Linked DNA regions of Homo sapiens: all the other regions are linked to region 1. The links are contacts of gene promoters, found by promoter capture Hi-C in blood cells and fetal thymus (Javierre and others, 2016). All regions are on one chromosome and are shown on one strand. Each heading gives the region's core, a stretch centred on a gene start or on the middle of the fragment in contact. The rest is flanking DNA. Distances are from core to core; before and after follow the strand shown.

Region 1 (3,572 bases), core at 745-3,244:
TATGTAGCTGTATGACTTTAGACAAATTATTTAATCTATCAGTGCTTATTTCATTTGTAAAATGAAAATAATAGTACTTTTCTCATAGGACTGTTAAGGAGATTAAATGAATTAATATCTGTAAAGTACCTAAAACATTGCTGGGAGTGTAGTAACTGCTGTTATCTAAGAGGCCTTATTTATTCTTTTTTTTTTTTTTTTTTTTTTTTGAGACAAGAGTTTCGCTCTTGTTGCCCAGGCTGGAGTGCAATGGCACAATCTTGGCTCACTGCAATCTCTGCCTCCCGGGTTCAAGTGATTCTCCTGCCTCAGTGTCACGAGTAGCTGGGATTACAGGCATGCACCACCATGCCCAGATAATTTTGTATTTTTTAGTAGAGACGGGGTTTCTCCATGTCGGTCAGGCTGGTCTCGAACTCCCAGCCTCAGGTGATCCGCCCGCCTTTGCCTCCCAAAGTGCTGGGACTACAGGCTTGAGCCACTGCGCCTGCCCTAAGAGGCCTTATTCTAAAGTCAAAAGAACAACCTGGATTTGAGTTCCCCAGCTCCATAATTAACTGGCTGTTATTTTGGGTCAGTCTTAACTACTCTCCTCATCTGTAAAAATGGGGGTGGTCTGGCCAGGCGCGGTGGCTCACGCCTGTAATCCCAGCACTTTGGGAGGCCGAGGTGGGTGGATCACCTGAGGTCAGGAGTTCGAGACCAGCCTGGCAAACCTGGTGAAACTCCATCTCTACTAAAAATACAAAAATTAGCTGGGCGTGGTGGTGGGCACCTGTAATCCCAGCTACTCGTGAGGCTGAGGCAGGAGAATCACTTGAACCCTGGAGGCAGAGGTTGCAGTGAGCCGAGATCATGCCATTGCACTCCAGCCTGGTGACAGAGCGAGACTCCGTCTCAAAAAAAAAAAAAAAAAAAAAATGGGTATGGTTCAACATGCATTGAGTGCTGGCATTGTGCTTCTAGACTGTGAACTTGAGGTTGGGGCCATTTTCTCTGAGTCCCCAGCACCTTGCATAATGCGATATAGGGTGTACAATAAACATGTGTTGAATTTATAAATATTTAGCATCTGCCTTATGCCTATAATTGATTAGTACTGTGATACAAAGATGAAAAATGAAACAGGTATGTAATAAGTGCTACAATAAGGATGTCGACAAATGCAACGGTAGCAAGAAAGACAAAAACAGGACTAACCATTGGGTTTGGTCAGATGATTTCATAAGCAAAAAGTCTACCACTAGTGGAGAGTGGGGCCACCAGTCAGATTATAGTGAAATATAAGTGGTCGTGTTGCATAAAGCATCAGTCTCTCTCTCTCTCTCTCTCTCTCCCTCCGTCCCTCCCTCCCTCCCTCCATCTCTCTCTCTCTCTCTCTTTCTTTTTTTTTGAAACAGTTTCACTCTTGTTGCCCAAGCTGGAGTGCAATGGCGCAATATCGGCTCACTGCAACCTCCGCCTCCCAGGTTCAAGCAATTCTCCTGCCTCAGCCTCCCGAATAGCTGGGATTACAGGCACCCACCACCACACCCGGCTAATTTTTGTATTTTTAGTAGAGATGGGGTTTCACCAAGTTGACCAGGCTGGTCTCCAACTCCTCATGTCTGGTGATCCACCTGCCTCGGCCTCCCAAAGTGCTGGGATTACAGATGTGCGCCTCGGTGCCTGGCCACATCAGTCTTTTTTTTTTTTTTTTGAGACGAAGTCTCGCTCTGTCGCCCAGGCTGGAGTGCAGTGGCACAATCTCGGCTCACTGCAACCTCCGCCTCCCGGGTTCAAACGATTCTCATGCCTCAGCCCAACGTTAGATTGGTTTTTCCGAGCCTGTGAACTCCATGGGGTCGCCAGATAAACGCAATCCCGGTGGACCAACGCCCAGGACAGACGCTACGTACCAACCCTGTGTCAAGCCGCAGGCAGCGGTTCCGGACTCTGGGACTTAACCTAACGTGGCGGGGCGGGACTTCCGGCGGGAGGCGGAGGCGGAGGCGCAGGCGCTGGCTGGCAGGTGTCGCTAACCGGACGGTGGTCGCCAGGGCGAGAGGCGGGAGCCGGAGAGGTGAGGCAGGACCCGGGCTCCACTGCCGCCTCTCCGAGCTCTTGTGACGCGGACCTCAGTGCCAGGATGGCTCGGGGCGAGCGGCGGCGCCGCGCAGTGCCGGCAGAGGGAGTGCGGACAGCCGAGAGGGCGGCTCGGGGAGGCCCCGGGCGACGGGACGGCCGGGGCGGCGGGCCGCGTAGCACGGCTGGAGGAGTGGCTCTGGCCGTCGTGGTCCTGTCTTTGGCCCTGGGTATGTCGGGGCGCTGGGTGCTGGCGTGGTACCGTGCGCGGCGGGCGGTCACGCTGCACTCCGCGCCTCCTGTGTTGCCTGCCGACTCCTCCAGCCCCGCCGTGGCCCCGGACCTCTTCTGGGGAACCTACCGCCCTCACGTCTACTTCGGCATGAAGACCCGCAGCCCGAAGCCCCTCCTCACCGGTAACCGGGCCCCAGGGCGGGCAGGCAGGCGGACTCCTAATCTGGGCGCCCCAGCTTGAAGCGAGAGCAAGGGTGGGAAGGAATGGATCAGGAGAGTTATGAAGAGGGATGACCCGGAGACCCGGAGGGACAGGTCCCCTGCTCTTTGACTTACGTGGCCATTCTACCCCCAGGACTGATGTGGGCGCAGCAGGGCACCACCCCGGGGACTCCTAAGCTCAGGCACACGTGTGAGCAGGGGGACGGTGTGGGTCCCTATGGCTGGGAGTTCCACGACGGCCTCTCCTTCGGGCGCCAACACATCCAGGATGGGGCCTTAAGGCTCACCACTGAGTTCGTCAAGAGGCCTGGGGGTCAGCACGGAGGGGACTGGAGCTGGAGAGTGACTGTAGAGCCTCAGGTCAGGGCCTCAGGACACCCTTTTCTCAGCCCAGACCCCCTCCATCCTTCCCTTGCTGCCAGCAAATGCAGCATGAAGTGGGCTCTGGCTGCCTGGCTTAAATCCTGCCTTAAACAACTGCCTGTATAACCATTTCTATTTACCATCTCTAAGCCTTGATTTCCTTGCTTGTAAAATGTACAATGTAGATAATAATAGCACTTAACTCACAGGACTGTAAGAATTAAATGAAAAAGAGGCTGGGCGCGGTGGCTCACGCCTGTAATCCCAGTACTTTGGGAGGCCGAGGCTGGCGGATCACCTGAGGTCAGGAGTTCCAGACCAGCCTGACCAAAATGGAGAAACACCGTCTCTACTGAAAATATAAAATTAGCCGGGCGTGGTGGCGCATGCCTGTGATCCAAGCTACTTGGGAGGCTGAGGCAGGAGAATTGCTTGAACCAGGGAGGTGGAGGTTGCGCTGAGCCGAGATCGTGCCATTGCACTCCAGCCTGGGCAACAAGAGCAAAACTCCATCTCAAGAAAAAAAAAAAAGCCAGGCGCGGTGGCTCACGCCTGTAATCCCAGCACTTTGGGAGGCTGAGGCGGGCGGATCATGAGGTCAGGAGATGGAGACCATCCTGGCTAACACGGTGAAACCCGGTCTCTACTAAAAATACAAAAAATTAGCTGGGCGTGGTGGCGGGCGCCTA
Region 2 (3,572 bases), core at 555-3,054, 230 kb after region 1:
ATGACCCAAGAGGGGACTGACAAGGGAGGTGATCCCCCATATATGAAAGGGTGTGACAGAGGGGATGGAGGGGAGAGAATAAAGATGAGACACTCCAGGAAGGAGGCGTCCACAGGACCTGTGGTTGGTTGATGGGAGCCAGGCATCCTGCCTCTGCACTTTTCCTACTTGCTAGCACAGCAGTGCATCCTAGAACACAATGAAGAAACACATGTGAGCTCCTAATCTTCCTAGGGAGCTTGTCATTCCTTGAACCAGCCCGTCCCCAGGAACATCACTCTGGGGGGCTGGGGTCCCTCAGAGGGTGGGAAGGTATGCTGGCTGCCTGGGGACTGCAGTGGGAAGGACACAGCTGACTCATCAGGAAGATGCTGACCCATTCTCTCCTGTGCTTGGTCTCCAAGTACAACCTCCTTAACCTCACAGCGTTGGACTGGTCCCTGCTGAGCAAGAAGGAGTGTCTGAGCTACGGCGGGCGCCTGCTTGGGAATTCCTGCAAGTTTATCCCAGACCTGGCGCTCATGTCCTTCATCCTTTTCTTTGGGACATACTCCATGACCCTGACCCTGAAGAAGTTCAAATTCAGCCGCTATTTTCCTACCAAGGTAAGCTCACCCTGCAGTTAGGAGGGGACCTGCAGTCAGACAGCTGCTGAGTCCCCCAGAGAGGGTTCTGGTCCACCGACAGGATGGACTCCATGCGAGCACTGGCCCACTGGGGTTTTTCAAGTTAAGTCAGAGAGAACTGTGTTCCCTTGTTGGCTGGTCCCCTTGACAACACTTGGTATTGTCAGGCTTTTATCTTTAGTCTTTGTCTATAGTAGTATCTCATTGTGTTTTTTAAATTTTTCATTTCCCTGATGACTAATGAAGTTGAAAATACAGCTATTCCTGTGTTTATTGGCCACATGCCCAATTGCCTTTCTTTTTGGAAGTGTCTGTTGAAATCTCTTGCACATTTTGGGTTGTCTGCCTTTCTGATTTGCAAGAGTTTGTTATATATTCTGGGTAGAAATGTTTTTGTGATTATATGTGTTGCAAAATCTTCTCCCACTCTGTGACTGTTTTTTTCTTTTTACATCCTTAATGGCATCTTTTGATTAACAGAAATTCTTAGTTTTATTGTAATTGAATATATCAAACTTTCCTCAAGGCAAATATTGGACAGCAGATATTCTTGTATGTTACCTTCTAAAAGCTTCATTGTTTTTCCTTTCATGTTAGATCTACAATCCATCAGAATTGATTCTGATGTGTACTGTGAGACAGTGTTTCTTTGTGATTTTATATAGTCAATTGTTCCAGTATTTTTTAAAGACTATTCTTTCTCCATTGCTTTGCAATACTTCCTTTGCCATATATCAAATATTCCTATATGACAGGGTCTGTTTCTGGGTTCTTTATTCTGTTTCACTAGTTTATTTATATATCAGTATCACAGTCTTCATTTCTGTAGCTTATAAGTCTTTATATCTTTGTCTCCCAAGCTCTCCCCTTTTGTCCTTTTTATATAATATTTTCTTGGCCCTTTGCATTTCCACATGAATTTTAGAATCATCTTAAATTTCACCAAAATGAAAACTTGTTGGAATTTTGATGGGATTATCTTTGCCTCTGTTTGGGAAGAATTAACGTCTTTCAAATTTTGAGTTTTTCTGATTTATGAATACAGTATACTTCATTTATTTTGGTCTTCTTTCTCTCCATAATGTTTTATACATTTTGATCTTTAAGTCTTGAACATTTTTTGTTAGAGTTATTCCTAGGTACTTGATTTTTTTATACCGTCGTAAATGCTAACTGCTATGTTATTATTATTTTATTATTATTATTATTTTTGAGACAGAGTCTCACTCTGTCACCCAGGTGGGAGTGAAATGGCATGATCTCGGCTCACTGCAACCTCCGCCTCCCGGGTTCAAGTGATTCTCCTGCCTCAGCCTCCCAAATAGCTGGGACTACAGGCGCCTGCCACCACACCCGGCTAATTTTTGTAATTTTAGTTGAGACGGGGTTTCACCATGCTGGCCAGGCTGGTCTTGAACTCCTTACCTCAGGTGATCCCCCCACCTCAGCCTCCCAAAGTGCTGGGATTACAGGTGTGAGCCACCGCACCCAGCCCTAACTGCTGTTTTAAATTTTATTTTCTACCTGTTTGTGGCTGGAATAAAAGATTTATGAAAACAGCACTTGCATACATAAGCAGTAACTGTGCCGTGGGGTGGGGGGTACTCGGAAGAATTTAAGCAACTCTTTCCCACCGTAAACTCCATTAGCAGTCTCCTAAAGCCATCTTAACTAAGTATTACAGCTGCTACTGCTACTAATCATAATGATAAAATCTTTGAAATAAATAGTTGAATTTTTCCCAGATTTTCTAAAGACTAAATAAAAGGTGCTTTAGGAAGCTTCACAGTATATAAACTGAGTAAAAAAATAGTTTGCTTACAACACAAATGCACCATCAAGACAAGTTCTCTTCCTTCCTGCCCACTTCCAGTCCAGAGCACATCCCTCAATCTCCTCTTATGTAAAAATTCTCAAGCAGTCACTGTATCTGAGAGTATCTATCTGTTGCCTACAGGATGAAAAGTAATTCATGTGGCATGAAATTCTTGTGCCAACAACATTTTTTCCGTCACATTACTTAAAAATTGCTCAGTTGGGCCAGGCACAGTGGCTCACGCCTGTAATCCCAGCACTTTGGGAGGCCCAGGCAGGCGGATCACGAAGGCAGGAGATCGAGACCATCCTGGCTAACATGGTGAATCCCCGTCTCTACTAAAAATACAAAAAATTGGCCGGGCGTTGTGGTGGGCGCCTGTAGTCCCAGCTACTTGGGAGGCTGAGGCAGGAGAATGGCATGAACCCGGGAGGCAGAGCTTGCCGTGAGCAAAGATTGCGCCACTGCACTCCAGCCTGGGCGACAGAGAGAGACTCTGTCTCAAAAAAAAAAAAAAAAATTGCTCAGTTGCCTTCTGGAATTTCCGGTTGCAGAGAGGAATGAGGCCACACCATTTTATACTCATCAGATTGGTAGACAGATGAAGGTCTTGGGACACCAGATGTTGGAGATGGAAAGCAGTAGGTGGGAATGTAGACAGATACATCCAATTTGGAGAGCAACTGACACTCTCTGATTAGGTTGGACCATATGAAGTTGCCCATATTTGACTGTTTCAACCTACAAAAAAAGTCAAGTTCATGTGGTTTAACTTAATAAGCATTCATATGGTTTTGATGTATATGCTAGGAATATTATAGAAAAGGAAGTATAAACCCAGCACACTACTTGGTTCTGCTGTGACTAATATTTATATGATCATGATAATATAAAGCTGTTACTAATTTTCAACTTTTGGAATTGACTTACAGATAAAACACACAAGCCATGTGTTTACGGAACAAGAAATGATTGTTCTCAGCTTCGACAATGGAAAGGTCAAAGTGGAGGTGTGACAGGAAGGAAGAGGGGAGGAGGAGAGAGGTGGTAGGAGGATAGAGGCAGTGGTCCTCACCTTGCAAGATGGAGAATGAGAGATATTAGCCAAAGCTAATGGAAGGAGATGTTTA
Region 3 (3,572 bases), core at 793-3,292, 150 kb before region 1:
AAGGGGTTCAAGGGCCCTGCTACAGTCTGAAGAGCATTAGGTTTTCACCTGCTAAAAACATTCTTCTGCTGTTTCTTTTTCTTCACACAGAGAGGGTTCACTGACTTGTATTTTCAGTTTAAATTGGTGGCACTTGACAGGTACAGGTGGTGTCTGGTGGGAGGACATGGCCCTGCACGCTGAGCACTCTTGGCCTGGGGTGAACTGTCTGCATGTGGGGTGGGAGCTCCATCTGAGGTCTCTGCAGAGCAGGGCAGACAGGTCCATTGCTGTGGCTGCTGATTACATCTGTGATCATGGAATTCCTTCACCCATCTCTCACTTGATATCACTTACCCACTTGCCTTCCTTGTACCACATCTTCTCCTGACCTTCACTTGCTACTAAATTCCCCCCAACCATATCATCATAGAAGCTAATCAGAATAAGACTGTAGCTTCAAATTTGAGTCCTTGGTTCCTAAGGTTAAACGTTTGCTGTTACCTTTAAAATATGGGTCAATCTCTTGCTTTACTCCAGAGAACCATTTGAAATTCACAGGACATGCACATTCTCCATAGTTGACATGTGCACAGACTAAGCAGTCAGTTTGCAGATTCGGCATTGCCAAAGAAGTGGGAGTATTAAACACTAGAAATGCTAAGAGTTTTCAAGGATTTGTATATTTATTATAATGTTTTTACTTCTGAACCTTCGATAATAGAAATATAGAACATTGCTTATTTTAAAACATGAGAAGGGCACAAAATGGAATAATTGCTTATTTTTTCCCAGACACTCTTAAAACAAATGGTATGAATTTTTTTAACTTTTATTTTAAGTTCAAGGGTGCATGTGCAGGTACATAAGTAAACTTGTGTCATGGGGGTTTGTTGTACAGATTATTTCATCATCCAGGTATTAAGCCTACTACCCATTAGTTATTTTTTCTGATCCTCTCCCTCCTCCCACACTCCACCCTCTGACAGGCCCCAGTGTGTGTTGTCCCTTTTTATGTGTCCATGTGTTCTCATCATTTAGCTCGCACTTATAAGTCAGAACATGCAGTATTTGGTTTTCTGTTCCTGCGTTAGCTTGGAATTTTTATTGTTAAATCCATAGTAATATGTCATCACAATTGTAGACACAAACAAGCTTAGTCCGAAGTTGTGGCTGGTTCTGGGTGTCATCTAATGACACCCTATATGACATCACCAGGCTGGACTGCCCTGATCACTGAGAAGTAAGGCTTAGATTCCAGCTATTTTGAATCATTCTGTGTCTGTCCTATAGTTGTAGTACAACTGCAGACACATAATTAGAACAATGGTGTAGCATTTTTGTATATAAAATGTAATAGAATGAATTTGTGACATCAAAATGCCTTGTAGGGTATCACATTTAGTCTTTTAAAATACCAAGGTGAGGCTTAAAATTTTTAGTACATATTCTCAAATTGGAGTTAAGTTACATTTCTTTTATAGCCTTTTGGGTATCTGGTCAAGAGAAAACAAGATTTTTCTCTGTTTATAATGATGCAATAAACTCAACCCATGTTGGCCACCAAATAAATAAAATAGGAATAAAAATTGATACTGAATGTTGTGTCATTCGATCAGTAATTATTTTATTTATTCACACAAACCTGAGCTAATTGAAAGAAGAGCCCAGCTTGTCCATGCCATTAAGAGGAATATTTCCAATTATTAAGAGAAACATTTCCAATTAAAGCTATGCTTAATGCCAATAATTATTTCTCAAAATTTGTATATACATGTTGTTTTAATAAATTGTATATGAATGATAATTCTAATAATAACTCAATCTAGAGTGCCCCTTAGAGCCTATGCTCATAGGAAACTTAGAACTCTTGCAAAATATAGCTGTTTTAGATGCAGAGAAGTATGATGGGATGATCAATAAAAGGTTGCCAAGCATAAAAATTCTTTTACATTATGATAAAACTCTCAGGGAAAGTGAAATGGAAATATGAGTTCAAGGAGAAAAAGGAACAATCTAAATTTCTATCTCTTGGGAAAAAAAGAGCTTGTTCATGTACTTTTAACACTGAATAATGGTGAGTATCAAATCACCATGGCATTTAGATTCAATTGGACTGTTTTGAAGAGTTATATTATAGTTTTATTTTTAAATGTTGATATTTAAAATATGCAGGAAGTTACATCGTTAGCAACCACTTATAAAGTTGGAATTTTAAAATATAGATGTTCACTTAAAAATGCATAAGGGGGTACATTGTTTCTCAGATTCTTTTAGTGGGTACATGAGAAGAAATGCTTAAAGCCTACTAGGCTACACCTGTGGTGTGATTTCTTCTAATTTCTTTCTCGGATAGTTTTCTTATTTTCCTTTCTAGATTACAAGTTTTCTTTGTGTAAGAATTATATGCAATTCCTTGTGTTTTCACCCCAAAGACTTGGGGAGAGAAGAATATATCAACTGTGGAGCTAAGCCCAGGAAGGTGTTGACTTAAGCAGTCTTTGTATTCTGGCAGGTTTACAGCTCATGCTCATGGATTTTATGTGCATTACAGATATCACTCAGTTCTGCTCTATGGTCAGGAAGGTGTCCCCATCCCAAAATATAATTCTTCCCCACCCCCCACCTGCTATTGATGCATGGAATCCCTTCAAATGATGTCACAAATCTTCAGTCCACATTTATCAAAATGCATATATCCTTAGGAGAAGTAACATTGACCTAGTATCAGATTAAATTAGTTGACTCCTAAGAGCAAGTTTTTATAAAGGTAGATGAGGAGAACCAAAAGGTCGCTTGTCTCGGTTTAACATGTTGGCTCCTTAAGCTGACTGCAGACTAACCCAAATATCTCTTCTTTACTGAAGTTATCCTAAAGAGCGTATTAGATAGGACGTATGAATTCTGAAGTGATCAACCACATCAAAATTCTCACTTCTGGGAAAACCTCATTTTTAAGTAGAGAAGCTTTTGGTGCCTAGACTGACTAAGAAATGAAGATGATGTCTAAGGTGAACACTGTCTGGCCTCCAGTTTGCAGGTCACCCCAAAGTAAAACTAAGCAGTCACACAACTGGATTTCCCTTTGTGTGAGTGAATGAGTTAAAACACTTCCTTTCATGTTTCTGGTAACTCTAAGTAATCAAAACCTTTATGGCTGCAAATTTTCCTTCTGCTAGTGTAGGGAAGATTTTGGTGCAGTGGCTAGAACACAATAGGAATTCAGTAGATGTTGGTCAAATAAATTTTCAGGAAGGGAAGGAACTTCTGAGGAATTATTTATAATAAATTTAGACTGCCAATTAATCTGAAACCTGGTCCCTAAAGACTTGTGTCTTTGATTCGTTTTTCTCTGCAGCAAGTGAAAGGGAACTTTGCTAGGTTGCAGACCTGCATCTCAGAACTCCGCATGTTACAGAGAGAAGGGTGTTTCAGATCACAAGGTGCTTCTCTGCGGCTGGCAGTAGAGGATGGGCTCCAGCAATTCAAACAATACAGCAGACATGTGACCACAAGGGCAGCTCTGACCTATACCTCCCTGGAGGTAAGTGATGCTGGCCTTTAGGACTCCAAGCTGTGTTCCGATTTCAGTC

Evidence for each region. Contacts are between HindIII fragments. The CHiCAGO score rates a contact against its expected background, and 5 or more counts as called.
Region 2: a fragment that was not itself captured here is called in contact with the fragment with the promoter of MOGS in region 1 in 1 of 17 cell types (M2 macrophages); the score reaches 5.3 in M2 macrophages.
Region 3: a fragment that was not itself captured here is called in contact with the fragment with the promoter of MOGS in region 1 in 1 of 17 cell types (total B cells); the score reaches 5.7 in total B cells.

What each region holds. Positions count from the first base shown.
Region 1 is chr2:74,463,804-74,467,375 of GRCh38, reverse strand. MOGS (mannosyl-oligosaccharide glucosidase) reads left to right here and starts at 1,994. Exons shown (of 4, transcript NM_006302.3): 1 at 1,994-2,480; 2 at 2,654-2,880. The coding sequence starts at 2,129. RefSeq lists silencers at 1-14, 2,208-2,427. The HindIII fragment of the contact is 14,256 bases long and covers 1-3,572 here.
Region 2 is chr2:74,236,368-74,239,939 of GRCh38, reverse strand. SLC4A5 (solute carrier family 4 member 5) reads left to right here. Exons shown (of 31, transcript NM_133478.3): 21 at 405-605. Among named protein-coding and RNA genes, the nearest start is that of MTHFD2, 40 kb to the right of the region's middle. The HindIII fragment of the contact is 1,210 bases long and covers 1,200-2,409 here.
Region 3 is chr2:74,614,915-74,618,486 of GRCh38, reverse strand. M1AP (meiosis 1 associated protein) reads left to right here. Exons shown (of 11, transcript NM_001321739.2): 3 at 3,338-3,523. Among named protein-coding and RNA genes, the nearest start is that of M1AP, 32 kb to the left of the region's middle. The HindIII fragment of the contact is 1,812 bases long and covers 1,137-2,948 here.